Linked DNA regions of Homo sapiens: region 1 is linked to region 2. Evidence: promoter capture Hi-C in human tissues and cell types (Jung and others, 2019). All regions are on one chromosome and are shown on one strand. Each heading gives the region's core, a stretch centred on a gene start or on the middle of the fragment in contact. The rest is flanking DNA. Distances are from core to core; before and after follow the strand shown.

Region 1 (6,667 bases), core at 1,694-4,193, 150 kb before region 2:
ATTCTCCTCTTTGCTCCATTAAAGCATCAAACATATTCACACAAGGTTTACGTGACCAAGGAGTGCAAGATAGGGATTAAAAAATAGACTTGAAATACCAGCTCTGCCATCTGCTAACTTTCTGACCATTTTGGGCCTCAAGTTCCTCACCAACAAAGTGAGAATAATGATACTACCCAGCAGGTTGTTACCGCTATGTTTATTAGTGTTCATCCTATTGGAGCAAGCTGACTGCTAACAACTTTAAAATCATGATGGCTTAACACAAGTTTGTTTCTCACTAACACAGAGTCTAGTGTCGATGGTCCTGATCGGGTGGCTTTCTGGTGACCTGAGGACTCAAGGATACTGCCCTTGCATTTTAAGGTGCCACTGTCTTCAACACAGGATCTTTAGGTTTTCGTTTGAAAGTTGTGGCTGCTTTAACTTGGCTTGGAAGCATTTCGTTGTTGAGAACTAGGACCCGAGATCCAGGGTGGGAGCTGGAATAGAAAACTTTGCTATGTGCCCAGGTAGAGATGTGATGAGCATCAAGCTAGTCTCTGCCACATTATTATTATGGCTGTTGCTGTTATTGTAACTAATCCTGTGTATTGAAACGGCAGTCATTTTCCAGATGTAACTACGGACCCTAACAGTTCACTGATGTTCATGGCCATAATTCCAGGAAGCCATTTCTGAGAGCTTATGTACCTTAAATCCCAGTTTGAGGTGTCTAGGGAAGAGACAATAGTCCATTAAGGATGACAGCAGGGAAGTCTAGTAACTTCTCTCCTCTCCACGATACTTAGCATGGTGTTGGACACAGCAGGTGCTGACCCAGTGACTGTGGCACTTACTCATGGTGGATGCACTACTCTATTTCCTTGGGTCCCTTTCCCATTTTCACACCCCTTGGCTCCACGTTTGCTTTTACTCTCGGTATCCAGAACCCATGCTTCTTTGTGAGAGGGCTGCCCTCATGCTTCTGGAGTCTCCTTTACCTGTGTGCAGAGAGAGTGGGGGATACCTAGAAACATGCATCCCTCTGAGATGGCCCTTGACCAATGGAGGGAGGGGCTCTCAGTCTCCAAATCTCCTCTGTGGGAGGAGCCAGTGCCCTGCAAGCACGGGACCTTGCTTGACATTGCACTCTTGCTTGGCTTCCTTCTCACTGTCTTGCATCCTCACTTCCCTGCAGGGGACACTGCCCAACACATCACTTTCTCACAAATCTGCATCTCTGGGATGCTTCTGGGGAACCAGCCTGAGACAGGAGGTAAGCTGAAGAAGCAGAATTTTGAAGATTCTGGGCTCTGTTTGAATGGAATAGCTGAGACGGGTCTTTGAGAACATCAGTATTTGCCTCCCACCTCAGTTTTTACATTCACAAATTAAAGGATCACACAGGCAGACTTTGGTATGATATGCAGTTCCTGAGCAGTGTTGGGACTCAAAGACGTTTATGGCAGCTCATCAGCCTGCATCCAGTGCTTCAAAGGGTTCTAAGAGACTGGCTCAGCCAACTGCCAGCCTGGTCATTTCGAAACTGAAATGAAAGCAGCAGAGAGAGTTATATTTATCAACTGAGTGAGACTTGCTTTTCTCAACAGGATATTTACGTTGTGAACTGGTAAAATCTGAACTGCAGAATATCAATTTCCAGACATTCTTCCTAGATGATGCCGTCTGCCACGGGTGAGTGTTTTCAGCTTTATGCTGACTATGTATTAATATAAAGCCATTCCTTACTCTTCTACCTTAATATATAGTCTCCTTGGTTTTAATTAGGTCTCTCCTTGCTTCTGAACTTCTGGTTTTCCCCAGTAATGTTTAGGAATGACCTCAGACCAGGTACATACAAGGTACAACGTGGTATGTACAAGGCTGTACCTCAAGCCACGTGAGAGGCTACCTTGGCCTTGGGCACTATGGTGAACACTGTAAAGTGCCACGTAGATCCCCTCAATAAGGACTTGCAGTCCCAGTGGTGCAGAGTGCTGCTGGCACACAGAGGTTGCCTGGGCTGCAGAGAGCAGCCTTACTGATGTCACACCCCTGCCCATGGCACCCAAATCTAACAACTGATTGATGTGGACACATAAAGATCTGGCCATCTCAGACCAACTTAAAACAACTCTGAAGGGCCATTTGAGCTTCCAAGCCCTGCACCTGTGGGACTGACCAAGGCTCTCTTTGACCTTGGCTCAATTTCTGTTTCTGCATACTGCTTCCTCCTCTTTACACAGGTGTTGACCCCTTAATAGGCATTCTACACAAAAAACTCCATCTTAGAGTCTGCTTTCAAGGGAACCCAACTTGTAACAGTCACATTTCCCTCCCTCACCAGCCAGACTCTCCCTGAAGACATCAGGGAGGAATAAGTAGAGTGGTCCTTCAGTGCTGGATGCAGCTTGGCTCTTGCTTTCAAACCCTCTGGGTGTCTGGTAAGGATAGGATAAGGAGAAAGAAGGGTGCAGTTTGAGGATTGTATGATGGCAGGGCTACCTCATTTTGATGCAGGGAAAGGGGTAAAGAGGCCTTCGCAGTCTCTGCAGGGGCCCTGCATTATAATCCCTGAGCATCTTTAACCGGGGCAGCTCTGTGTTCATTCCAGACATCGTCCCTGAGGGCTCCTTCTCCCTCATCCTCACACTCAAATGCTGAAGAGGTTAGCAAGTCCTGCTGACTCTTCAAACTGTATTCTGAATCCATCTACTCTTCTCCCTTTCCTCTGCCTCCACCCTAGCCAAAGCCACGACCATCTCTTACCTGGCTAAAGTGTGTCTTACCTCCTTGCAATTCATTCTCCTCACTATAGCCAGAAAGATTTTTGAATACTGATATTTTTCACTCCCAGGAATTTCACTGTTTCTTTTCATAATTGCCAGCTCTTGATTGTAATGATCTCCTCTCATTTGACATATAGATACCCACCCACATCTCTCCAAAATACGAAGTATACAGATTATAAGTTTCTGTTCTGATTTGACTATTAGCTCGGTTTCCTCAGTTATAAGTTTTTTCTTTTGTGGAGTCTGGTGATGCTCTTGTATGGAGTTTAGCATCTTCAAATGGTTGATGTATTTAGATTGTGTGTAAAGCTCTGTGCTTTCTGCTTGTTGTTGAAATGCAGCCTGGTTTCCTGCAGGTCCCTTGGGGTGTGGGTGGGAGCTGATGCCTTGGCTTGCATTGTGGGGAAGCTCAGCACAGACCACAAGGCAGGGGCTCACTGTCCCACCTGCGTGTAGAGGCTGCCTCTTCCTCCTGGGTGTCATCAGCCATCCAAAGCTCTGACCTGGTCTCCACCCCAGATTTCACACTGACAGGTACTGCTGGGTGCAGAAGCATCACTTCCTGACCTGGAAATCGTTCCTAATAATGCAACCGAAAGGCCATCCCACATTTTTTTCCTTCACGACACTGACCATAATGAAGAGTTAGTAAATATTTACTCATTTATGGCTGTATTTGCCCACTAAAGCAAGCTCTATGAAGGCAGAGATAAAGTCTGTTTGGGTTACCACCAGGTACCCAGTTCTCGACACTGCATTTGACACACACTTATTTCAAGAAATCGTTATTGAATAATGTGTTGTTTAGGCTTCCATAACACCTTTCATTTAAAGAAAGGGTTCTTAGCTCAACACAGTTTGAAATCAACCACGAGAGAGGACACCTTATCAAAGAAGGAGCAAAGGACCTTGTGCTTCTGTGTAGGTTCTGTGGGGAAAGGTACCTGGTGAGGTCTGCTGCACAGGCCCCTTGTCCAGAGGGAGCTGCAGTCCTGCCGCTGTCCTAGGCTGACTTCACCTTCCCGAGAGCAGGGAGCTCATTTTCCTCTGAACTCGCAGACTGCTGCCTGCAGAGAGGCGGAGCCTGCAGAAACTGCTGCAGGGCCATTATGGGGCATTCCAGGAGACGATTACATTAGCTGCTGGGTCCTGGGGGGCTCAGCAGGCAGGAGGTAGAAGGAAGGAGGGAGGAAGGGCTTCAGCCTGCACCGCTTTTGAGTTATCCTGAGGTGCCAGCACCCCCAACCCCTCATCAGCACCACTGCCATCTGCACCCACCTGCCCACTGCTCTTCGCAGTGGTTGCCAGCAGTTGGTAAGGGACCTTCCAGAAAAAGAGAGTGTTCATGCCACTTGAGGAAGAGGGGGCTGTAGAGATCACAGCTTCTCTCCGCACCTCATTCTATAGCTAAGGGAGCTGGCCCAGAGCACAGATGACTGGCCCAACGTCACACAGGCAGTAATAAGTGGGGCTAGGGCCAGGATGCAAAGTTACTGATCCCCAGGGCACTGGGACTGCAGCAGACTGCCCTCTCCTTCTCTCTCTTTTCCTCCTGTTTCATCCCCTTTCACCTTGTCTGCTTCATCTTGTTCCCAGCCTCTTACCACTTCAGCCCTGTGCCACCACTACAAAGACACTACCGCACCACTGACACCCCAGGCTCCTGGGCCACTACCATGCATTTTGCCTACTCCTGCTTGGGGCTGAGGGGCTTGCTGGCCTCTGACCAAAGCTCTCTCTATGGTTTCAAGCAGAATCTGGGAGCTGCAGTATTAATAGCAGGGAGGGCCTGCACCAGCCCAGGATTCCCACGCCTCTCCAGGAGCACTGGTGATTCATTTTACTCCCAGGCTCGCTCTTATCCCAGGAGAACAAGAGCCTGATTCCCAGATTCCAGATCCGATTCCCTGAGATGAGAATATTCCTGAAGCCCCTGGACTGTGCATGGCTTTCATTTGACAATCTCGAACACATACCTTTGTCTTTATCCTCTCTGATCGCCTTCTGCCACAGCTCCTCCTGCTTGCCCACCTCCCCCAAACAAGATCATTCCCTTGAGTCACTCTCATATCTGACATTACGCCTCGACTCTTGTACCCAGCACACTGTATTGCAATGACCTGCTTCTTTCTCTGTTTCTTAGTCCTTTCAGGGAGCACCTTCAGTGCAGAATATGTCTCCAGCACCTAAAGAGCTGGCGCTGAGAAGGTCCTCAATCATTGTCGGTTGCAGGGGATCTGGCCACCTGGGATCCAGCTCTGTGGTGCAAATGGGAGGAAGGGAGGCAGAGCCAGGTTTCCCATCCCCAAACCGCCCAACCCCACCTCCCACCTCCCACCCTCAGTTGGAGCCTAAGGTGACAAGGGGCTGCTGCTCCTACCTTGCTATGTTACAATTTTCTAACTAACCAGAGCCTGTCCCCTCAGATGAATGTGTGGGAGGGAGAATAGCCCGAGTGAGGAGGCCCTCCCAGCATTCCTGACCAGCTGGGGATCCTGGCGGGACGGATCCTCCACAGGAGCGTTTTTCTAGGGTGTGTTCTATGGAACGCTGGACCTGTGATGTGCTCCGGGAATAAAAGGTTCAGAGGTTGCTTTTGGGAAATGCCGCTTCCTACAAACCTGTCTGTCCCTGTTGTAGCTTCACGGTACACCCTGCAGCACGAAATGTGAATTGTAAAACAGTAAAAACAAAACATTAACAGCGGGGGACATTCCTCTGCTGACCCCAAAGTTCAGCAGGTGCGGGACAGGGGAGGGGCGGGCTCTCTTGTCTGCATCAGGCTTGGGGAGCCATCTCCGCCTCGGGGCTCGCAGACAGGGCTTCTCTGCCAAAGCAGCACCTCGGGGCGTGTTCTCCCACCCATCTGTGTTCAGGCATCCCTTCCCTCGCATCTGGATTTTGTTTAGGCCTATTTGCAATTCCTTAAAAAAAATCTAAGAAATAGTTGGAGCCTGAAAGAGAGCTGGCCAATGAAACGCCCCGTTGGGGCATTACCGCATCGGTGAGTGGCTGCCCTGAGGCGATGGCTGCGTTTCCGGGGCACCGCCGTGCGCCGGTGCCCACGCGTACCAGGCTTCAGGGGAGCACTCGGGAAGCGCGGGGGGTCGCGTGCCCTTGGCCGGAGGCCTGGTCGCCCGCTGGCCTCGCCATTCTCGGCTCCGCTGCTGTTGCCTGCGCGCCTGTGGCGGAGCAAGCCTGCCTCCAGGGCAGCCTCACTGCCGGGATCCTGGGCAGACCTCCCACGTGATAACCGTGATCACGGTGTTGATGCTCACTCTGGGGCAAGGGTGCTCACGTGTTCTCGTAATTGGGCGGAGTAGCCCTTCCTTCAAAGTCAGCCCCGGTCCCCTTGCACTGTGCAGCCCCTCTCTGCCGGACCCTGCCCGCATTAAATCTCCCCTTAACCTCTAAAATGCTCATTGCCAGCGCCCTTCGTTTGGTATTTGTAGCAGATACTGTCTCCTGCTGTAGCGCCATGTCTGTTCCCCCTTTCTACCATGATATAAAACCTCCTGATTTTTAGCTGGGCGCATGGTTCTGGAATCATGACTATGTTCCCAATTCCCTTGCAACTAGATGTGACTAAGTTCTGGCCAATGGGATGGTCATGTTCTACTTCCAGGAAGTGTCCCTAAAATAAGGGAATATGTCTTTTTAGGTCCCTTCCTCTCTCCAGCTGTCTGGAATGGAGCTACCATGTCTGGTGCCCAAGCAGCCAGCTCTGACCCAGAGTTAACATATTATGGATTGTGGAGCCACAGGATGGAGTAGCCTGGGTCTGATGGTTCTGTTAGTCAAGGCTAGTCAAAGAAGCAGGACCAACAGGAAATACATATGTTTATGTATGTATATGTTATGTATATGCTATGTATACACATACACACACACAC
Region 2 (7,096 bases), core at 3,111-5,610:
GCACATGATGGCGCCACTGCACTCCAGCCTGGGTGACACAGCGAGACTTGATCTCAAAAAAAAAAAAAAAAAACAATGTGTCTTCACCATAGCCTATACAAATTGCAGATATTAAAATGTGAATGGGAGCTGGGCATGGTGGCTCATGCCTGTAATCCCAGCACTTTGGGAGGCCAAGGCAGGCGGATGGCTTGAGCCCAGGAATTGGGGACCAGCCTGGGCAACATGGCGAAAACTTGTCTCTACAAAAAAATACAAAAATCAATTGAGCATGGAGGTTGAGGTTGCAGTGAGGCAAGATGGCACCACTGCAATCCAGCCTGAGCAACAGAGCAAGACCCTGTCTCAAAAAAAAAAAAAAAAAAAGTGAATCATCTAACAAAACACAGTAATTTTTGTTAATGAGGAAAAACATTTAATGCTGGCAAATAAGACTCCCACTCTCATACATTAGTCTTGAAATTTTGCACTACCTTTCTGGAAAGCCATTTGTTATCAGAATATTTAAATGTTACAGTTACAGCTTTCGGCTCTAAATTCTATTTATCTATCTCAATACATTTTTGATTCATTTCATTTTAGAGATAGGGTCTCACTATGTTGCCCAGGCTGGTCTCACACTCTTGGCATCAAGCAATCCTCCTACCTCAGCCTCCCGAAGTGCTGGGGTTTCAGGCTGAGCCACCATACACAGCAAAAAAAAAAATTGAGACATTGTTCTGTTCCCCAGCCAGGAATGTAGTGGCACAATCATAGCTCACTGCAGCCTCAAGCTCCTGGGCTCAATATCTCAATATATTTTCAAAAAGCGTATGTATAAGGAGACTAAAAGAAAAAAAAATGAAGATTATCTCGTTAATGGGAAATAGTGAATAATGGGATTGAATTTTTTTTTCTATATATTTAACAGTCAACAAGATTTCTTTTTTGGCGGGGGTTAATCCATCGCTGCAAGCATTTATCCTTTCTTTGTGTTACAAACAATCCAATTGTAGTATTTTAGCTATTTTTTTCTTGAGACAGGGTCTTACTCTGTGGCCCAGGCTGGAGTGTCGTGGCACAACCACAGCTCACTGCAGCCTCAACCTCCCCAGCTCAAGCCATCCTTCTGCCTCAGTCTCCCAAGCAGCTAGGACTACAGGTGCACACCATGGGCCTGGCCAATTTTTTGATTTTTTGTAGAGTTCTCACTATGTTGCCCAAGCTGGTCTCCAATTCTTAGGCTTCCCAAAGTGTTGGGATTGCAAACGTTAGCCAGTGTGCCAGGCCATCTTTCAGCTATTTATTTTTATTTTTTTGAGATGGAGTCTTGCTCTGTCACCAGGCTGGAGTGCAGTGGCACAATCTCAGCTCACTGCAATCTCCAACTCCCTGGTTCAAGTGATTCTCCTCCTGCCTCAGCCTCCCGAGTAGCTGGAATTAAAGGCATGTGCCACCATGCCCAGCTAGTTTTTCTATTTTTTAGTAGAGATGGGGTTTCACCATATTGGCCAGGATGGTCCCGATCTCCCGACCTCGTGATCCGCCTGCCTAGACCTCCCAAAGTGCTGGGATTACAGGCGTGAGCCACCACACCCGGCCTCAGCTATTTTTAAATGTTCAATAAATTATTGTTGACCGTACTCACCCAAGATTTCTGTATTATACAGCAATTCAATCTCAAGTCCATCTCATCACTGGCTGTAACTGTGGACAGTTCCTTAAATGTTTCCTCAAATATAAAATAGTTCCAACCGTATAGAGTGCTGTATACTGTGTCACCAAATGCATATTGTATAGGGTACTGTATTACACTACTATATACAGTATGTATTTAGAAACACAAAGTTTTTGACTATTTTTATTATATTCTGAAAGCGAACATCTTCAACTGGTAAATTACATGGTATATTAAATTATTTTCAAAAAAGATATTTTTATTTATATTATTATATGTATTTTTTGAGATGGTGTCTCACTCCCGTCATGCAGGCTGGAGAGCAGTGGCACGATCTCAGCTCACTGCAACCTCCACCACCTGGGTTCAAGCAATTCTCCTTCCTCAGCCTTCCCAGTAGCTAGGATTACAGGCATGCATGACCAAGCCTGGCTAAATTTTTTTTGCTGATTTTTATATTTTTAGTAGAGATGGGGTTTCACCATATTGGCCAGGCTGGTCTCGAACTCCTGACCTTGTGATCCGCCCACCTTGGCCTCCCAAAGTGCTGGGATTACAGGCGTAAGCCACCACGCCCGGCTAATTTTTGTATTTTTAGTAGAGATGGGGTTTCGCCATGTTGGCCAGGCTGGTCTGGAACTCCTGATCTCAGGTGATCCTTCTGCCTAAGCCTCCCAAAGTGATGGGATTACAGAAGTGAGCCACCGTGTGGGCCTCAGCCATACAACTTTGACAAAGTTCTTTGTGTGTCTTCCCAGTCAATAGTGGTTTCTCCTTTATTCCTGTTCCCACAGACGCAATTCTGATTTTTTTCCCCACCTAAATTTTCTTTTTCTGTCGCCCAGGCTAGAGTGCAGTGACACAATCTCGACTTACTGCAGCCTCCACCTCCTGGGTGCAAGCGATTCTCCTGCCTCAGCCTCCTGAGTAGCTGGGATTACAGGCCTCACCACTGCACCCGGCTAATTTTATGTATTTTCAGTGGAGACAGGGTTTCACCATGTTGGTTGGGCTGGTCTTGAACTCCTGGCCTCAAGTGATCTGCCCGCCTCAGCCTCCCAAAGTGCTGGGATTACAGGCGTGAGCCATCCCGCCTGGCCATATATTATTGTTATTTTAGATAGGGTCTCGCTATGTTGCCCAAGCTGGACTCAAGCAATATTCCTGAATAGCTGGGACTACATGCAAGCACCACAGCACCCTGCCAAAATAGCTAAAAAATACACCTTCCTGTAACAGCTCTGATAAATATCTTTTACTTCGTTTATTTTTCTTTTTTGAGATGCAGTCTCCCAGGCTGGAGTGCAGCGGCATGCTCTCGGCTCACTGCAACCTCCGCTTCATTGCAACCTCTGCCTCTGAGGTTCAGGCGATCCTCCCACCTCAGCGTCCCAAGTAGCTGGGATTGCAAGCCTGCACCAACATACCCAGCTAATTTTTTTTGTATTAGTAGAGACGGGTTTTATCACCTTGGCCAAGCTGGTCTTGAACTCCTGACCTCAAGTGATCCGCCCGCCTTGGACTCCTAAAGTGTTGGGATTACAGGCGTGAGCCACCGCACCCGGCCTCTTTTACTTCGCTTAAATGTCCAATTTTAGTAGTAAAATCCCGGAAAATGTTTTTAGGAGTATGTTTAACTGAAAAGCTCATATTTTCTTTCATTTTTGGGCAATTCTTAAGGTAAGCAAACTAATGTTGCATGATAAAGCCCCCATCAAGTATCTCATACTTAAGCAAAGACCTCAAATCATTGTGGCTTTATTGCAGCTTTCCTTCAAAATATCATCTGTGACTGAGGAAATCCCTATCTTCCTATCAGACTAATGAAACCACAGGACAGCAATTAGACTTTTAAGTATTGGGGGTTTAGAGCTCTAGATATTCGATATGCAGACTACTCATGTTTGTTTGTTTTAATAAAGACTGGTCCAAAGGCTCATTTTCACACAAGCTACAGTTTTTCAGTTCCAGGACCAGGTAAAGATGGTCAGCTCCGTGATCCATAAAATCCAAGGGTGACGACTCAGGATTAGGACCATTTCTTGGTGACATTGAGATGGTCGAGCTGGTCCGCAATGAATCTATGCGGGGGGAACTTGGAAGTGGCGGCCGCCTTTATGGCCTCGAAGGCCTCCCTCCTGCGCACCGCGGCGTGGCCGCGCTCCTGCTCCCGGGTCATGTAGGGCATGCTCAGCCAGTAATGGTTCTCCGCCTCGATCTCCAGGCGGCGGATCATGTTCTGCTTGGCGCGCAACGACACGAACCGCGGCCGCCGGTGCTTCCCGATCCACTGACGGCCGGGAATGCGGCCGCGCCAGAGGAGCGCAGTCAGGAACATGGTGCCTGCGGAAGAGAGGGACGGGCTTTGCGGAGGCGAACTGGCGCGGCCGGACCTGGAGAGAGCAGCGGGCGCGCGCTCCAGCTCACGCCTACGGGAGTTCCCGCACCGCCTCCCCTCCAGAGAAGCGGGGAGCCCAGGTAAGGCCAGCAGGCGAAGAAGGAGCTCCCTAGAGAACCGAATTCGCACAGCTACTCACCTGCCGCGCTGCTCAAGACTCTGCGTCTCCGCGGCCGCCAGCAGACGCCGTGGCGTAAGCGCACCCGTCTCGCGGGGTCTCCTGGGGCCTCGGCGAGAGACTTCGGCTCTCGCGAGAGAGGACTGCGCCTGCGCAGAGCCGAGGACGCGTCCGGCGCCGAGATTCAAACTAGTGGCGGGAGGCTGTGAGCTGAGCGGTGGGGTCTGCGTACGCCTGGAGTCCTTCCCCGCTGTGCTCAGCATGGACCCTATCCGGAGCTTCTGCGGGAAGCTGCGGTCTCTGGCCAGCACGCTGGACTGCGAGACGGCCCGGCTGCAGCGAGCGCTGGACGGAGAGGAAAGCGGTGCGTGAGGCGGGCGGCCAGGGCACGGTGCGTGGGGTGCGCCGCGGGCGGAGGGGCGTGGCGAGTGGACGGTATGTCCCACGGGAACCGCCAGGCACTGACGGCGTGGACGGCTGCCACCGAGGCGCAGGGCGGGTGCTGCGCGTCTCACTGCTCGGCGTTTGGCGTTAGCGTAGCTCCCGGGCCTGTTTATGGTTTATTCCTAGGAACCCTTGTCGCGTGTCCGTTTTAGACCCATGTACAACCCCACGGCTCTCTTGAGATAATGAAAGTAGCACTATTACGTTATAAACAGAGACAGCAGCACTTAAGAATAAGAACCTAAATTAACAGATTGAGCTCATAATACATATACTAATTTATACGTGATATGCTTTCGTCACATACAATATGTGTGCTTGTCAGTAAAATACCATGTAAACCTAAACAGTTTCTCTTAGAATCAAGCTATTTAACGTTCTTTACACAATACTTTACACATATAGTGACTTTTTTCTCACTCACGTGGTCCACAGTTGCAGTAAACCTCTGTGTTTTTCCCGCTAAACCATGTTGCCAACACAAACACTAGTACTCAACAGTGCTGGGGTTTAAAAAAATATGTGTATATAAATAAAGCAAAATTCACCATTCCCCTTTTTATTAGAGATTTTTTAAATTGTTGAAAAAGTAGTTCAGATTTTGGAATTATTTCATAAATGTCATAATTGTAATGTGCTTTAAAATATTACACCCTGCAGACTACTTTTACTTTAATTATATAATGAATGATCTCCAGTCACTTGAAAATGTCTATTTCTGCCCGGCGCGGTGGCTCACGCCTGTAATCCTAGCACTTTGGGAGGCTGAGGCGGGCGGATCACAAGGTCAGGAGATCGAGACCATTCTGGCTAACACGGTGAAACCCCGTCTCTACTAAAAATACAAAAAATTAGCCGGGCGTGGTGGCGGGCGCCGGTAGTCCCAGCTACTCGGGAGGCTGAGGTAGGAGAATGGCGTGAACCCGGGAGGCGGAACTTGCAGTGAGCCGAGATCCGCCACTGCACTCCAGCCTCGGCGACAGAGCAAGAGTCCGTCTCAAAAAGAAAAAAAGATTTGGCCGTGCACGGTGGCACACGCCTGTAATCCCAGCATTTTGGGAGGCCGAGGTGGGTGGATCGCCCGAGGTCAGGAGTTCAAGACCAGCCTGGCCAACGTGGTGAAACCTCGTCTCTACTAAAAATACAAAACAATTAGCTGGGCATAGTAGTGGGCGCCTGTAATCCCAGCTACTCGGAGGCTGAGGTGGGAGAATCGCTTGAACCCTGGAAGCGGAGGTTGCAGTGACCCGAGATCGCGCCACTGCACTCCAGCCTGAGCGATCTTAGACTCCATCTAAGAAAGAAAAAACTATCTTCAGATGGTCATCAGGAATGTGAAAAGACATCAATTTCATTAGTCATCAAGGAAATGCAAATTTCATTAGTCATCAAGGAAATGCAAATTAAATCTCAATGTAGTACAGTTGCATACCCAGCAGGATAGCTAAAACGAAAAAGAGAAAATTACCAAGTGTTTGGAAAGATGTGGAACAAATGCGCTTTTTGTTGTTGTTGTTGTTGTTGTTGGAGCAGTACGCACTTTTTTTTTCTTTTTTTAAAATTATTATACTTTTAAGTTCTAGGGTACATGTGCACAACGTGCAGGTTTCTTACATATGTATACATGCACCATGTTGGTGTGCTGTACCCATTATCTCGTCATTTACATTAGGTATATCTCCTAATGCTATCCCTCCCCCCTTCCCTCACCCCATGACAGGCCCAAGTGTGTGATGTTCCCCTTCCTGTGTCCAAGTGTTCTCATTGTTCAATTCCCACCTATGAGTGAGAACATGCGGTGTTTGGTTTTTTGTCCTTGCAATAGTTTGCTGAGAATGATGGTTTCCAGATTCATCCATGTCCCTACATAGGACATGAACTTATCCTTTTTTATGGCTGCACATGGTGTATATGTGTCACATTTTCTTAATCCAGTCTATCATTGATGGACATTTGGGTTGGTTCCAAGTCTTTGCTATTGTGAATAGTGCGGCAATAAACATAAGTGTGCATGTGTCTTTATAGCAGCATGATTTATAATCCTTTGGGTATATACCCAGTGATGGGATGGCTGGGTCAAATGGTATTTTTAGTTCTAGATCCTTGAGGAATTGCCACACTGTCTTCCACAATGGTTGAACTAGTTTACAGTCCTACCAACAGTGTAAAAGTGTTCCTATTTCTCCACATCCTCTCCAGCACCTGTTTTTTCCTGACTTTTTAATGATTGCCATTCTAACTGGTGTGAGATGGTATCTCATTGTGGTTTTGATTTGCATTTCTCTGATGGCCAGTGATGATGAGCAGGAACAAATGCACTTCTTATGCACTGCTGGTGGGAGTGTGAACTGTAAAAATCATGTTGGAAAACTAGCAGTATTTACTGAAGTTGAGCATATGCATAACATATAATCCAGCACTTTTTCTGAGTCTCTTAACATACAGAAATATGAATACGTTGGTACCAAAGACATGTTCT

The links. The method cuts DNA at HindIII sites, captures the fragments that hold promoters and counts their contacts. A contact is called where the count stands out against the background at its distance.
Region 1: a fragment that was not itself captured here is called in contact with the fragment with the promoter of SKA3 in region 2 in 1 of the 25 tissues and cell types used here (spleen).

Annotation. Positions count from the first base shown.
Region 1 is chr13:21,325,584-21,332,250 of GRCh38, reverse strand. LINC00539 (long intergenic non-protein coding RNA 539) reads left to right here. Exons shown (of 3, transcript NR_103841.1): 2 at 1,593-1,677. It also overlaps the pseudogene MIPEPP3. Among named protein-coding and RNA genes, the nearest start is that of LINC00539, 16 kb to the left of the region's middle. The HindIII fragment of the contact is 8,475 bases long and covers 1-6,667 here.
Region 2 is chr13:21,173,816-21,180,911 of GRCh38, reverse strand. SKA3 (spindle and kinetochore associated complex subunit 3) reads left to right here and starts at 4,360. Exons shown (of 9, transcript NM_145061.6): 1 at 4,360-4,537. The coding sequence starts at 4,435. MRPL57 (mitochondrial ribosomal protein L57) reads right to left here and starts at 4,254. Exons shown (of 2, transcript NM_024026.5): 1 at 4,195-4,254; 2 at 1,828-4,000. The coding sequence starts at 3,995. The coding sequence ends at 3,687. RefSeq lists enhancers at 3,785-4,104, 4,120-4,842, 5,565-6,287. The HindIII fragment of the contact is 23,400 bases long and covers 1-7,096 here.